Linked DNA regions of Homo sapiens: region 1 is linked to region 2. Evidence: promoter capture Hi-C in human tissues and cell types (Jung and others, 2019). All regions are on one chromosome and are shown on one strand. Each heading gives the region's core, a stretch centred on a gene start or on the middle of the fragment in contact. The rest is flanking DNA. Distances are from core to core; before and after follow the strand shown.

Region 1 (2,700 bases), core at 123-2,622, 460 kb after region 2:
CTTTCAATGCAGCTAAAGGGAATAATAAGCACATGCAGCTGAATACAACTAAGGAACAAAGGGAAAGCATTAAAGAAAACATACAGGAAATGAGATCTCCTTGGTGGGTTCTTTTTGCTGACTGGTGAGGATGTGTACTTAACACTGTAAGCTCAAAGGGAGCTGTGGTGATATGTTCAGAAATGTGTACCACTTAATGTAAAAACTGAATTTCTGCAAAAACCAGAAATTTCATTCACCTAATTTTAAGAAATGACAAAAAAAAACTTATCAAACTTGTGAAAATGCATCATATAGCGTGGCATAATCAAATGGACAAGATTCTTCCAAAACACTAGGGCATACATATCCTCTTTTGGACTGACTTATAATAATAGGGTCTTCATATTCAAATTAGTTTTTAAAACTAGCTGTACTTTTCAGAAAACTAATGTTTTCCTATATTTCATATGAAGATGCAGATGCTTTTATACCTATATAAACTGTAAAGTTATTGGTTGAATTAATAAACAGAAAAAATTTACTTAAATATGAAAAAGATACCTATTATGTCAAAGCTCCTTGTTACTGAAACATAGTTAATTGAGGCCTTAATGAGTGCTTACCACAAAGTTATATGTATAGCCATATGAACTAATTAAAGAAAGGCAATGCTCCAGAGTGTAGTGAAATTTACTTCATTTAGGTTATGGTACTACTTTTTGGTTCAAAGACTATACTTTTTAAAAAGTGGATACCTGCGGTCCATCTCTGGCTTCATAGAAGTCACCCACTCTTATTTTTGCACTGAAGCTGAAATTGTCCCTTGAGATATCCATTATTCCATTTCTGCTGAGATACTGAAAAAATCACATATTTTTCCACTTCAGGTTTTAATAATTACAACCCAGCTTTGATGTATAGCTAGCTTCAGGACACTAATGTTTTGCATATTCTATCAAGGGGCTCTAAATTTATAGGAGATCAATTTAGGTTAAGTACAATAGTCCCATACAAGAGAATATTTAGTATCAAGGAACTTTATCTGAGAAAGGAGTACACTTTTTTTTTGTACATGATCATGCTTAATAGGCACCAAATGTACATTATTTGGTGAAAAGTATGTACCTTTATTACTTCAGGGTACTGCCTAAGTTTCTTTCCACATGGAGCATAATATGCTACTTCTCCTTGAAGGCGCCCTCCAAAGTTTCTTATTCTTGTCTCTCTCTGCCAGCTACACATAACAGAAATGAAGGTTATGACATACTTAATTTCAAGAAAGCTTTTAAAAATTAAAAATAAGTTAAAGTATACATGTTCTCTAGAAAACATAAAAAATGAAAACAAAAATAAACTCCTCAAACAACCCAAATACATTAACTCTCAAAATTATTTAGATTTTTAGCTAATTCAACTAGAAAATTAATTATTCAATTTATATATTAAACTCCATCAAAATTTTTAGAAATCATACTTGATTACTTTGGGTACTCTGACATTTCAGTAACATGTTAATGTGTACTGATTTTTTACATCTGAAAAGCTTTAAGGGAGGAGTAAAGTAAACCTGGCTCTCTGCTGCTTGGGGTTCACGTACATCCAGTCTAAAAGCTGTCATTTCTAATTAAACCATTTTAGCCAAACTCTGGTTGAGTCCCTCAATTTTGACCAAAGTGGCTTTTACTGTCCTTTAATTCTATCTTCACAAAAACTTCTCACAGTCTCATGTACTCCTGCCCTTTGCCATCTGATTTGCTCTTGGTTCTTTTTCAGTCATGTTCCTACTTGGCTGTATCATCCCACCCCAGCTCTGCCATACCTCCAGGAAACAGGATTAATTTCAGTTTTCTGATATACCAAATTCCTTGCCCTTTGCTCCGGCTCTTCTGCTCTAATAAATACTATGCAGCTATGTACTTCTTCTATTAATTGTAGAGAATGAGAAATCAAGTATACATCAAACTTGCATAAATATATGGGGGAAAAAGAAAAAGGAAAACCTTATTTTGCATACCCATATTCCAATGGAATACGCAGTTCACGTTCATCTGTTACTCTTCTTCTTTTGGAAGTGCCTTTAAAAAAATTCAATTGGTTAATATAAAACATTCATTAATATAAATAATAATATTGATAGTTTAGAAACTTTTCTTTAAAAAAGTATATGTTAATAACTTGGATTTAGTGTATTTCTGTAATTTATACATTATTTTTAGATGGTTTTCAATAAAACACTGTATAAGGCAGGGGGCTTTTTTCTTCTTTTGGGTCTGAATGACAGGATAACTAGTTTTTCTCTCTAAAGAAAATACAATCCAAGGTAAAAATATACACCTTTCCTCTCATTTTATTATTAAAGAAATGGCTAGAGAAGCAGGAGAGAAATAGAGGTTTCAGAAAATCTATTTAAACTGTTGACTTTGAAAATAGGAGTTTTTGGATGCTGAAAAATTTCAACAGCTGGCTCATATATTTAAAGACGATTTAATTTCTATGTCCATATAAATCCATAGTCAAAAACACTACCAGGTCTTTTAATTAACCTAAGCCACCAAGGAACAGGATTATGATTTTATGTAAAAATTTTCTAAGACCGAGATCAAGTTTCACAAACACAAATAAGTTCATCTAAAATTAGTAGGCTATCATATTGGTATGTGGTAAATGAAAGTAAAGCTAGAAACTGACAAGAGGAGAGTGAAATAAGTAAAACAACAA
Region 2 (2,700 bases), core at 156-2,655:
GCTGATGTGTTTACTGCTCAAATATCAACACAGCAGTAATCAGGCCTTTGAAACTATGGGTGAAAAATCCAGTCCATTTCAGTCTTTTTAATTTATGAAAAGAGATTGTGTGGCATTTTGCTTCCTGTCCCTTTTCATAAGAACTTTAAATATGGACACCCCTCCTGCTGGTGTCTTTATATAGGGAAGCTCTGCGTGAGGTTGAAGTTTTTATGAGGAAACTTGTTTAAAACACAATCGTATTTTAAGGCGGGTTTGCCACAGCAAGGTTAGGGGTTACCAATAAATCGGTTTACAGCAACTTCTCTATTCTCTGCTCCAGACACACCAATGGGGTGACCCGTGCACAATTCCCGCTGGCCACACAAGGCAGCGGCAGTTCTAGTTGATCCTTCCTTCGTCAACTAGATCAACGAAGGCTGTCTTAGAGAGCTTCGGGTATTAAGTGAGCAGAGTCCCTTAGGCCAATTTGGCTGCCTGGGATTCCTGGGAGGATCTTGGAGAACCCAGGACACCCGAATCCCTAGTCCCTATCCTGGTTTTTGCTCTGCTGGAGAATAACAAAACATTTTGGGAACTCAGGAGTTTAATTTACTGCCACCAACCGACAAAATAATAGCATCTTTGTGTGTTCTCTCCCCTCCGTCCCTCCCACCTCCTTCCGACAGAAGCACGACGCTGGCCCTCTGTGAATGTAGCGCAGACAGCACGGGCCAGCCCGGAGCGGTCGCAGGAGGCTCCAGACCCGCGGCCCCAGGGACGCCCGGGAAATCACCGGCCCCAGAACGTCCCCCATTCCTTTTGGGAAATAAAAAGACGCAGCCGGTGAGATGCCTTCTTAGACCTTCCAGCTCATTTAGCTGATTCTGGCCCCAGAAAGTGTGTTTGTGTTTGTGTGTAGTTAAGTGAGGCAGAGAAAATCCAAGAAAGCCGCACAAGCCACCCCAAAGCGTCCACGGAAACTCCAGCTCGGTTAATTGCTCCCATATGTCCTCCTCGGCTGTGGTAAAAAAGCAGCGAGGAGGGAAGGCCGGGTCGCTTTATTGATTTTGAAGAGGCTGTAAAAAAGACTATGGCCCATCTCATTTTGGTCCCAGAGGGGCCTAGGCGCAGCCCCGGGGGACCCGGTGCCCAGAGGGATGGTAGGGTGCTTCAGGCCCGGACCTGGCGCCGAGAGGCGGGACAAGGGGACCTCGCGCCCAAGCCCCGCGGAAAGTTCGCGCTCCGCGCTCCAGCCGGTCCCTGGATCCGCCGCAGCCCGGGGCGGGGAGGGGCGCGGGAGGCGCGGCCGGGGCGGGCGCGCGAGAGGAAGGTGCCTTCGGGAACACGCGCAAGGGCGGGGATTCGCGCTGCCAATGAGGCCCCGGTGTGGGCCGAGCAAGGCGGGGGGACGGGCCGGAGCGGAGGCTTTGCTGTGGCAGCTGCTGGAGCGGCGGCCGCCTCGGGAGCCGGAGGAGAGGCAGCCGCGGAGCGCCGAGCTGGCCTCGCCCCGAGGCCCGGCCCTGGGTGTGGGGAACCGCGCTGAGGAGCTGGAAACTTTCCCGGCAGGTAACTCCCGCAGCCCGGACTCCGCCGCGGGCCTGCGAGCGCCCCGGGCATGGCCAGCTGCCAGTGTGCGGAGAGGTCGAGAGGGACCCGGGGTGGAGAGGGTGATGGGAGAAGGGAAAGGCGTGTGGGAAAGTTTCTGGAGCGCCCCCTCCTCCGCCGGGCACACCCGGGAGCTTTCCGGGAATAGGCACAGACATGTTGGGCGCCCCGGGCCTTGGTCTCTCGGCGGCTTTGGGGAGTCCGCACCTTCCTTGCGCGGTTCCCCCGCGCCGGACCGAGCCGGCCTCCCCTGGAACCGGTGTGGTGGGAACCGGGAACGCTTGGGGCACGCTCGAGTTCTGGGACCACCCCCGCCCGGCGCGCCCGCTCGCCCCCTTTCCCGCCTTCTCTGTAGCCCTCGGGCTTGGCAAGGGCCTGGGCTACGCCTGGTACCTGGCGCGGGGGAGGCGGGGGGAGGCGCGCCTGGCACCGCGGGGTCCTGGGCGCCCCCCGGAGTGTTGGGGTGCGCGGGTCGCGAAGTTGCCGAGAGAACTTAAGCCGGAGGCATGGTATTGCCCCAGTCTGGGCTGAAAGTCTATTGCTTTGCTTCCAAGAACACTGCGATTAGCATATCCACACTCCTTTATTGGGGGTGGGGGTGAGTTAGGATTAGACGTTGGGGGTTTTTCTTTAGGGGTGGGGCGCTGAGAAGAGCGGTAATTGTCAAGATTGTGAGCCCCCTTGTTCTTGGATGCAGAGTGGTCATTTTCGGGGGACGATATCAGGGCACTGGCTTCCTGGAGGACTTTGGGGTGCGGGCGCGCAGCGCTGTGGGTGTGCGGGGCTCCCGGCTTTGGCGCGGCGGCTTTCCGGAACGCCTGGCTGGGAAGGAAGCTCTAGGCATTGTGTGGTGTGTTTGCAGACAGAAAGGTCCCTGGACCGGTGTTCTCAAAACTTACTGGACTTATTGTGTAAAGCTCCGGGAGGAAATGTGGCGTTGGCCAGGTAGAAACGCGGCGCTGCGGCCAAGGGGCGGAGGACGCCAGGCTCGGCAACGGCCTTCTCCCAGCCCCCTCCTGCCAGCTCCAGATCCGCGTGCCTCCAGTGTTGGGACCGTTCTCAGTGGCGTTGTTCCCTGCTGGAGTTAACTTGGGAGGTGAGGAGGGAACTTTC

Evidence for each region. Contacts are between HindIII fragments. The study calls those that stand out against the background at their distance.
Region 1: a fragment that was not itself captured here is called in contact with the fragment with the promoter of TANC1 in region 2 in 1 of the 25 tissues and cell types used here (hippocampus).

What each region holds. Positions count from the first base shown.
Region 1 is chr2:159,427,204-159,429,903 of GRCh38, forward strand. It overlaps BAZ2B (bromodomain adjacent to zinc finger domain 2B), which reads right to left. Exons shown (of 37, transcript NM_013450.4): 11 at 1,997-2,057; 12 at 1,108-1,216; 13 at 738-839. Among named protein-coding and RNA genes, the nearest start is that of WDSUB1, 140 kb to the left of the region's middle. The HindIII fragment of the contact is 5,314 bases long and covers 1-2,700 here.
Region 2 is chr2:158,967,235-158,969,934 of GRCh38, forward strand. It overlaps TANC1 (tetratricopeptide repeat, ankyrin repeat and coiled-coil containing 1), which reads left to right and starts at 1,406. Exons shown (of 27, transcript NM_033394.3): 1 at 1,406-1,548. RefSeq lists silencers at 1,192-1,301, 1,362-1,441. The HindIII fragment of the contact is 16,038 bases long and covers 1-2,700 here.